Regions from separate parts of the Homo sapiens genome. Here region 2 is linked to region 1. The links are contacts of gene promoters, found by promoter capture Hi-C in human tissues and cell types (Jung and others, 2019). All regions are on one chromosome and are shown on one strand. Each heading gives the region's core, a stretch centred on a gene start or on the middle of the fragment in contact. The rest is flanking DNA. Distances are from core to core; before and after follow the strand shown. Region 1 holds the start of BRAT1 (BRCA1 associated ATM activator 1). Region 2 has its middle 24 kb from the start of GNA12.

Region 1 (5,128 bases), core at 959-3,458:
CAGGAGTTTGAGACCAGCCTGACCAATATGGTGAAACTCTGTCTCTACTAAAAATACAAAAATTAGCCAGGGGTCGTGGGTGCCTGTAGTCTCAGCTACTCAGGAGGCTGAGACAGGAGAATTGCTTGAACCTGGGAGGTGGAGGTTGCAGTGAGCTGAGATCACACCACTGCACTCCAGCCTGGACATCAGAGCGAGACTCCACCTCAAAAAAAAAAAAAATTGTGGACCTGTGCAATACAATATTCAAATCTGGAGCCAGACTGCTTGGGTTCAAATCCAAACTGTGCCAATCCAGTAGCTGTAAGGCCTTATGAGTTAGCCTCTCTGTGCCTCATTTTCCTCATCTGATGGGCTGGTAGTGGTACTCTCCTACCGTTGCTGTAGAATCATACAAGTTTACAGTAAGTGAAGCACTTAGCACAGTGCTGTTGTTGAGTTTTCTTTACTCCACAATTACCTAACTGGGTGAATGTTAGTATCTCATTTCACAATGAGGAACCAAATTTCAGGGAAGATAACTGTGCATTTCAAACTTTTTCACACATGTAGTTCTAAGGATGTACGTGTGTGTGTGTGTGCAGGGGGCATGCAAGCGTCAGGGAAGTTGCTTTTCCAAGGTTACCCAGCACGGCTGGGCGCGTTGGCTCACGCTGGTAGTCCCAGCACTTTGGGAGGCCTAGGTGGGCGGATCACCTAAAGTCAGGAGTTCGAGACCAGCCTGGCCAACATGGTGAAACCCCGTCTCTACTAAAAATACAAAATTAGCTGGGCGTGGTGGCCCGCACCTGTAATCCCAGCTACTCGGGAGGCTGAGGCAGGAGAATCGCTTGAACCCAGGAGGTGGAGGTTGCAGTGAGTCAAGATTGAGCCATTGCACTCCAGTCTGGGCAAAAAGAGTGACACTCCGTCTCCATAAATAAATAAATAAAATAAAGGTGACCCAGCAAAGTCAGTGCTTTTAAATTTTTAAATTTTAATATCCATAGGAATTCTGCTTTGTTTCCTAAATCTGGTGTTGGCTCCCAACAATCTTGCTATAAAACAATGCTTTGGGAACATGAGCCTTGTCTATCCACTGGCTTTGAGACTCTCGAACACACAGTTAGTGTTTTGAACTCAATTTTTTGGACCTAGTTTTTCTGCCTGTTTGCTTTCTTAAAACACAGGGTCTTGCTCTGTTGCCCAGGCTGGAGTGCCGGGGCAGGATCATAGCTCACTGCAGCCTTGAACTTCTGGGCTCAAGCGATCCTCCCGCCTCAGCCTCTGGAGTAGCTGGGACCACAGGCGCATGCTACCAGGTCTGGCTGATTTTCTTTTTTTTTTTTTGAGACGGAGTCTCGCCCTGTAGCCCAGGCTGGAGTGCAGTGGCACCATCTTGGCTCACTGCAACTTCCGCCTCCCAGGTTCAAGAGATTCTCCTGCCTCAGTCTCCCGAGTACTTGGGATTACAGGCGCGCGCCTCCACGTCCGGCTAATTTTGATATCTTAGAGATACAAAAATTAGAGACGAGACGGGATTTCGCCATGTTGGCCAGGCTGGTCTCGAACTCCTGACCTCGTGATCCGCCCGCCTGGGCCTCCCAGAGCGCTGGGATTACAGGCGTGAGCCACCACGCCTGGCCTTTTTTTTTTTTTTTTTTTTTTTTTTTAAATTTTAAGAGATGGGGTCTCGCTTTGTTGCCTAGGCTGGTCTCAACTCCTGGCTTCAAGCAATCCTCCCAACTGCGCCTCCTAAAGGGCTGGAATTACAGGCATGAGCCACAGCGCGGCCGCGGAGGACTTAATTTGAGAACCTGAAGCTAAATGACCAAGGGCTTTGGTGCACGGATCAGGACGCTTCTCTCCGGCACATAGTTTTCTCGCTCCCGCCGGTGCAGACACTGGGCGCCCTGCAGGCGAAGCCCCGCCCCTCCGGACACAACCCCGCGCCTTCCTCAGAGATCCCCGCCCTCGAGACGCCCCGCCCACCCACCGGATGCTCGGCATGAACCACTAGGCGCCTGGCGGGGGTGATCTGTCGGAGCGACCGGCTTGGCGCCTGCCTGTCCCCAGCCCCTCTCAGCTTGAACTCCTTCCTTCAAGTCTGGGCCCTCGAGGCTTCCAGAGCGGCCTCCAGGGGTGCAGTCTCAGTTCCCCACGCCAGCCGTCTCCGTCCTCCGCCTCCTCCGGGCCTGGCAGGTGGCACTGTCCGGAGGCGGAGCCTTGGGCGAGGGGTGGTTGCGGCGGAGGACGCAACCGAGCGGTGAGGCGCGTGGGCCTTCGGGGGTCGAGGTCGTGGTAGTGGGGCGCGGGGAGGCCAAGACCCGGCCGAGGGGGGCGGGCGGGCCAGGGAGCAGCCCAGCCCGGGGCGTGCGCGACCTGGGCTCGCTTCCCAGCCCGACTGTGGCCGCCTGCTCTGGCGCCCCTTCTGGACTCTCGGGCCTGGCGCTCGCGGCCAAAACTGACTTCAAAGTGTGGGGAGGGTTCCTCTTCCCGGGACGCAGCCTTCCCGGGCATTGGCAGACGGTGCCCCGGTTAGACAGAGCCGCTGACCACCCCGCCCACCCCCGAGGCTGGACGCACGGATGCACACCTGGTCCTGGGAGAGACAGGCGCCCCTTCCTTTCCGCACCCCGCCGCCCCCCTCTCCCCCCCGCCGGCTTCAGATGCAGCCACCACTAATCCTGGGAGGGACAGACACACGGACAGGTGCCCCTTCCCCTCCTCACCCTCCTACTGGCTGCAGAACAGCAAATGCAGCCACCACTGACCCTGAGAGGGACAGACACACGGACAGGCGCCCCTTCCCCTCCGCACCCCCCTGCTGGCTTCAGGACGTCAAATGCAGCCACCACTTGACGCTGGGAGGGACAGAAACTTTCCAGCCCAGGCTGGCCCTGGGGCATGGGTAGACATCCCCTTGCACACATGGCTGACCCCGGAACTCAAAGATGCCCCTGACTCTGGCCCACCTGCAGCCTGGGCCAGCACCACGCTGTTGCCCCGACTGCACCAAAGACCAAGGGTGACAGACTTTGAGTTCCGGAGGCCTTGTGGTTTCAGCTAGACCCTCATCTGCCCCTTTCAGCCCCGCCACCAGCGCTCAGGGCCCCACCTAGACCAAAGCTTTGCATCCATCCCTGCAGTACAGACCTCTGGTCTGGGGATCATGGTTCTCCTGGTCTGAGATGAAAGTTCTGGGGCCCCTTCCCAGGCCTGAGCAGGCATGGTGGGCTGCTGTGACTAGAGCGAGCTGGGTCTGGAGTGGGCATTGAGGTTTGGCTCTCACATTGCCTTTGCAGGGCCTGCGGCCTCACCATGGACCCAGAATGCGCCCAGCTGCTCCCGGCTCTCTGTGCTGTTCTGGTAGATCCCAGGCAGCCGGTGGCAGATGACACCTGTTTGGAGAAGCTCCTGGACTGGTTTAAAACGGTCACTGAAGGAGGTAAGGAGGTGGTGCTGCTGTTTACTGCCTATCCAGAGACCAGACGCAGAGGCTGGGACAGGGAGCAGGGGCCAGATGGGGACTCCCCTGTCCTGGAGGAAGGGCAGAAACTGCCAATCAGATGTCTTTCCTTCACTTCCTAAGGATTATCTGTGGCAGACTGAGGGCAAGTTAAGATGAAGCCCGAGAGAATGATCTGGAGAGTTAGAGCCTGAAATTCAGCCAGTTGAGCCACGATCAGGGCACCCCAAGGTTCAGTTCTACAGAAGGCGTGAACAAACTTGTTTTATTGTTGTTCTCGTTGTATTTAGTGTGTTTAAGACATCAGATTTGTTTTCTTTCTGATTATGAAAGTAGGGGCCGGATGCAGTGGCTCATACCTGTAATCCCAGCACTTTGGGAGGCTGAGGCGAGCGGATTGCTTAAGTCCAGGAGTTCAAGACCAGCCTGGTCCAACATAGCGAGACGTCATCTCTAAAAAAAAAAAAAACAAAAATTAGCTGTGCCTGGTGGCGCACCTGTAGTCCCAGCTACTCTGGAGGCTGAGATGGGAGGATCCTTTGAGTCCGGGAGGTAGAGGTTGCAGTGAGCTATGATTGTGCCACTGCACCCTGACCTGGGTGATAGAGTGAGACCCTGTCTCAAAAAAAAAAAACAAAGTAATACATGTTCTTTAAAACATGAACAAAAGAGTAAAGAGGAAAATTAAACCATCAACGTTTTAATTTACTCCCAGCCTTTTCATAACACATAAAGCTGTATTTTTCTGGGGAAAAAAAAATGAGGTCATACTGTAAACACAATTTTGGTGTCTTGCTTTCTCTCTTGCTATCATAGTGAGTGTTTTCTCCACATAATATGTTAATGTTATTGACTACATGTTATTTGCTGTAGGAATAGACCATAATTAATTGAATCACTCCACTGTCAGATGTTTATATTTCTCATTTTTCATCATTTTAAGTAGTGTCATAGGTCAGGCGCGGTGACTCATGCTTGTAATCCCATCACTTTGGGAGGCCAAGGCGGGTAGGTCACTTGAAGTCAGGAGTTCGAAACCAGCCTGGCCAACATGGTGAGACCTCGTCTCTACTAAAAATAAAAAAATTAGCCGGGCATGGTGGCATGCGCCGTAATCCCAGCTACTTGGGAGACTGAGGGGGAGGATCGCTTGAACCCAGGAAGCGGAGGTTGCAGTGAGCCCAGATCGTGCCACTGCACTCCAGCGACAGAATGGACTCTGTCTCAAAAAAATAGTGTCAGTCGAGCGCGGTGGCTCAAGCCTGTAATCCCAGCACTTTGGGAGACCGAGGCAGGCAGATCACGAGGTCTGGAGATCAAGACCCTCCTGGCTAACATGGTGAAACCCCGTCTCTACTAAAAATACAAAAAAAAAAAAAATAGCCAGACGTGGTGGTGGGCGCCTGTAGTCCCAGTTACTTGGGAGGCTGGGCAGGAGAATGGCGTGAACACAGGAGGCAGAGCTTGCAGTGAGCCGAGATCACGCCACTGCACTGCAGCCTGGGCGACAGAGCGAGATTCCGTCTCAAAAAAAAAAAAATAGTGTCATAATGGCTTTCCTTTTACATAAATATTCTCGCATGTAAATGTTTATTCTCATGGTTGATAATTGCATTGGGATAGACTGCATGTTGTTAATTTCTGCTATTCTTTACTTCCTTTTTTTGGTTTACCGTGTTC
Region 2 (4,691 bases), core at 1,563-4,062, 310 kb before region 1:
TGGCAAACACAAGCCCTGCGTCACGGTTGGAAGTTGGTCCCCGCCCACCCTGCATCCTCTCCCTGTATCCTGCTTGGGCATTGCGTTTCATCAATCTCTTGCTCATTTCTTCTGTCTTGACGTCTGCCTCCCAGATGACCAAAGTGACACAGGTAACGAAATGAGTCTCTCTAATGAGTTCCCTAAAGTCCTGGGCCTCCGAGGGCTGCAGGCCCTGCCTCCTCTTACTCATCGCTGACTCCAGGCACCTGGCCTAGAGCTTCACAGGGGCTCAATAGCTTCCTGTCCTGCTCAGGCAGAGAGGGGCAGGCAGGGAGGGTCTCACACTCCAGGGAAGGGTGCTGCCTTTGCAGAGTTGAAGTGGAGTGTGTAGGGGGTGGTGGGGGAGTCCTGGGAGACCGTCAGCCACTCCTTGTGCACGTGGGAAAGGGGGACCCGGACAGGACGGGAGGACGCAGGGTGTGAACAGCATCGGACCCCACAAAGCACCCCTGGCGCACAGAGGTAAGGTCTGCTGGCTCAGGTATCACTAAAAGCCACAGAGTGGCTCACCAAGCCCAACAGGGCCCAGACCAGGCGCTCAGCTCTCACTAGGTCCGATCCCCGCCTCGCCTCTGAGCTGTAGCCCTCTGTGCAGGGGGGGCGCACTCCTGCCCATGGCAGACAGACCCCTCCACTGGGACACACGGGGCCACCACAGCCCAGCGCCCTCTTTCTCCTCCAGGCAGGGTGGACTCTCCTGGGTGGAGACTGATATGGTGAGGCTTTGCGCCTCACCCAAATCTCATCTTTTTTTTTTTTCCTTTGAGACTGAGTCTGGCTCTGTCACCCAGGCTGGTGTGATCTCGGCTCACTGCAGCCTCTGCCTCTCGGGTTCAAGCGATTCTCCTGCCACAGCCTCCCACGTAGCTGGGACTACAGGCACGCACCATCACTTCTGGCTAATTTTTGTATTTTTAGTAGAGACAAGGTTTCGCCATGTTGGCCAGGCTGGTCTCGAACTCCTGACCTCAAGTGATCTGCCCACTTCGGCCTCCCAAAGTGCTGGGATTACAGGTGTGAACCACCGCACCCGGCCCCAAATCTCATCTTGAACTGTAATCCCCATAATCTCCACTGAGTCATGGGAGAGACCAAGTGGAGGTCATTGAGTCACGGGGATAGATTTCCCCCAAGCTGTTCTCGTGAGAGTGGCTGAGTTTTCAGGAGATCTGATGGTTTTACAAGGGGCTCTTCCCGCTTCACTCAGCACTTCACCCTCCTGCCACTTTATGAAGAAGGTCCTTGCTTCCTCTTCACCTTCCATCATGATTGTAAGTTTCTTGAGGCCTCCCAGCCATGCTGAACTGTGAGTCAATTCAACCTCTTTTCCTTTATAAATCACCCAGTCTCAGGCAGTTCTTTATAGCAGGGTGAAAACAGACTAATACATAGGCCTACCCCTTGGGCCACGTTACTGTTGCCAAAGATGTGAAGAGGTCCGGGTTACAGGACCATGCCCCTGGGTGGGTGTGTGGGTGGGTGTGTGGGTGGGTGTGTGCACGTGCGTGCCTGCAATGCTCCTGTGACTATGCGTGGCTGTGGTGTACGTGCGTTCGTATGTGACTCCATGGGGTACATCCGCGTGTGTATGTGTTTGTGTATGGCTTGGAAAGGCCCCACCAGAACTGGAATGGAACATGGGGAATCCCCTAGAGGAAACTGGAAGCCTCTGCTTTAAGGGTTATGATATGTTAATTCGCTGCGTTTAATCATTCTACGACGTATACATGGATCGAAGCATCACACGGTGCCCCTTAAATAGACGTAATTATTATTTGTCAATTACAGAAAGAAAGAATTGCCCTAAATTAATTAACAAATGCAGCATTTGCTAGCGAACTAGGAAATAAGGTGGAGAAAACAAGATTTAACCCTTATTTAAATCGAGACATCTTGTATTTTGAAAATGCAATCGAGTATTTTATTTTTAATAGAGATGAGGTTTCACCATGTAGACAGATTTTAAGTGTTCTCACTACAAAAAATAATAAGCATGGGAGGAATGCATATGTTAATTTGCTTGATTGAACCATTCTACAAGGTATGCGTATTTCAAAACATTGTGTTGTACATGATAAACATATCAATTGCTATTTGTCCATTTAAAGTAATATAAATAGCTGGGCACAGTGGCTCACACCTGTAATCCCAACAGTTTGAGAAGCCAAGGCAGGAGGATCACTTGAGCCCAGGAGTTCAAGATCAACCTGGGCAACAAAGTGAGACCCCCATCTCTACAAAAGTCAAAATAAAATTAGCCAGGTGTGGTGGTGAACACCTGTAGTCCCAGCCACTTGGGAGGCTGAGGTGGGTGGATCACTTGAGCCCAGGAGGTAGAGGCTGCAGTGAGCTGTGACTGCGCCACTGTACTCCACCCTGGATGACAGAGTGAGATCCTGTTTCAAAAAAATTTTTTTAATTAAAAATATAAATAGGCCAGCACAGTGGCTCACACCTGTAATCCCAGCATTTTGGGAGGCCAAGGCGGGCAGATCACTTGAGGTTAGGAGTTTGAGACAAGCCTGGCCAATATGGTGAAACCCTGTCTCTGCTGAAAATACAAAAATTAGGCTGGTCGCAGTGGCTCACACCTGTAATCTCAGCACTGTGGGAGGCCAAGGCAGGTGGATCGCCTGAAGTCAACTGTTCCAGACCAGCCTGGCCCACATGGCAAAACCCCTCCTCTACTAAAAATACAAAAATTAGCATGGTATGGTGGCACATGCCTGTAATCCTAGCTATTCAGGAGGCTGAGGCGGGAGAATCGCTTGAACACAGAAAGCAGTTAGCTGGGATTGCACCACTGCACTCCAGCCTGGGCAACAGAGCAAGATTCTGTCTCAAAAAAAAAATTTTACATGTATATACATATATATGTGTGTGTGTGTGTGTGTGTGTGTGTATATATATGAATATTTATAGGCTGGGCACAGTGGCTCACACCTTTAATCCCAGCACTTTGGGAGTCTGACGCAAGTGGATCACCTAAGCTCAGGAGTTTGAAACCAGCCTGGCCAACATGGTGAAACCCCGTCTCTACTAAAAATACAAAAATTAGCTGTGCATGGTGGTGCTTGCCTGTAATCCCAGCTACTTGGGAGGCTGAGGCAGGAGAATTGCTTGAACCCGGGAGGCGAAGATTGCAGTGAGCTGAGATCACACCACTGTACTCCAACCTGGGCAACAGAGCGAGACTCCATCTAAAAAAAAAAATATCTATCTATCTATCTATCTATATATATATATATATAGAGAGAGAGAGAGAGAGAGAGAGAGGCATTTAACAGGAAGAAAAGAACGCAAAATTGTGACCACTATGTTATAAAGGAAAATGTAGTACCCCACCCCCAGGCTGCAGGGGAGGAGGAAGCCCACATGTGCTGGATACCTGGAGATAGGTGGTGATATGGTTTGGATGTGTGTCCCTCCAAATCTCATGTTGGAATGTGATCCCCAGTGTTGGAGGCAGGGCCTGGTGGGAGGTGTTGGATCACGGCAGGCAGACCCCTCACGAGTGGCTTAGCCACATTCGCTTGGTGATGAGTGAGTTTTTGCTCAGTTTACATGAGATCTGGTTGTTTAAGAATCTGGGTTTAAGAGCTCTGGTCGTTTAAGAGTCTGGGGCCTCCCCCTTCTCTCTCTCACTCCTGCCGCCTGTACCTTCCGCCATGATTGGAAGCTTCCGGAGACCTCACTAGAAGCAGAAGGCAGCACCGCACTTCCTATACAGCCTGCAGAACTGTGAGCCAATTAAACCCCTTTTCTTTATCAATTACCCAGTCTCAGGTACTCCTTTATAGCAATGCAAGAACAAACTGGCACAGATGGCACCCAGGGAAATGGGAAGCCAACCCAGGGAATGGGAAGTCAACCTTCCACCCAGGGAAGGGCACATCTCACTAACACAGAAGGCACCTGGCAGGGGTCCAAGAAAGACGGTCCCCAAGTCTCCCATGGCCCCCATGGGAGCACGGGAGGATGTGAGGCCGGGAAATTAGTCAGGGACTGCTAGCAAGATGCAGAGAAAATGCCCTCCACAGAGAACCAGGCACCTCTGGGATAACCAGCATGGAGGGTGGGGGATGGCACATGACAATGTCCCTCCAGGAGACATCTGTGTTGGAGGGGGAACTGGAGCCTCCCCAGGGCCATAAGTTTATACCACCCCCTAGAGCATACCTGCCACGCCAGGTGAGCAAAGGAATGCTCAGAATTGAGCTTAAATGACCAAGTTCATCTGGAATTGGCCAAGATGACATTTTCCATCATCAGTCTGAAAAGGGGCTGGAAATAACGATTAGGTTGGGTCACAGAAAAACACAGTCCTAGCCGGGTACAGTGGCTCATACCTGTAATCCCAGCACTTTGGGAGGCTAAGGTAGGAGGATCCTTTGAGCTCAGGAGTTCAAGACCAGCCTGAGCAATATGGCAAAACCCCGTCTCTACAAAAAATATAAAAAATTAATGAGTCAGGTGTGGTGTCAAGCACCTCTGGTCCCAGCTACTCAAGAGGCTGAGGTGAGAGGACCGCTTGCGCCCTGGAGGTTGAGGCTGCAATGAGCTGTGATCCCACCACTGCACTCCAGCCTGGGCAACAAAGCGAGACCCTGTCTCAAATAAAAGAAAAAAGGGCCAGGCGTGGTGGCTCA

The links. Contacts are between HindIII fragments. The study calls those that stand out against the background at their distance.
Region 2: a fragment that was not itself captured here is called in contact with the fragment with the promoter of BRAT1 in region 1 in 1 of the 25 tissues and cell types used here (dorsolateral prefrontal cortex).

The regions. Positions count from the first base shown.
Region 1 is chr7:2,552,604-2,557,731 of GRCh38, reverse strand. It overlaps BRAT1 (BRCA1 associated ATM activator 1), which reads left to right and starts at 2,208. Exons shown (of 14, transcript NM_152743.4): 1 at 2,208-2,245; 2 at 3,285-3,427. The coding sequence starts at 3,301. RefSeq lists an enhancer at 1,624-2,301 and a silencer at 2,214-2,453. The HindIII fragment of the contact is 14,393 bases long and covers 1-5,125 here.
Region 2 is chr7:2,866,085-2,870,775 of GRCh38, reverse strand. No RefSeq gene overlaps it. Among named protein-coding and RNA genes, the nearest start is that of GNA12, 24 kb to the right of the region's middle. RefSeq lists silencers at 1-178, 1,126-1,330. The HindIII fragment of the contact is 5,597 bases long and covers 14-4,691 here.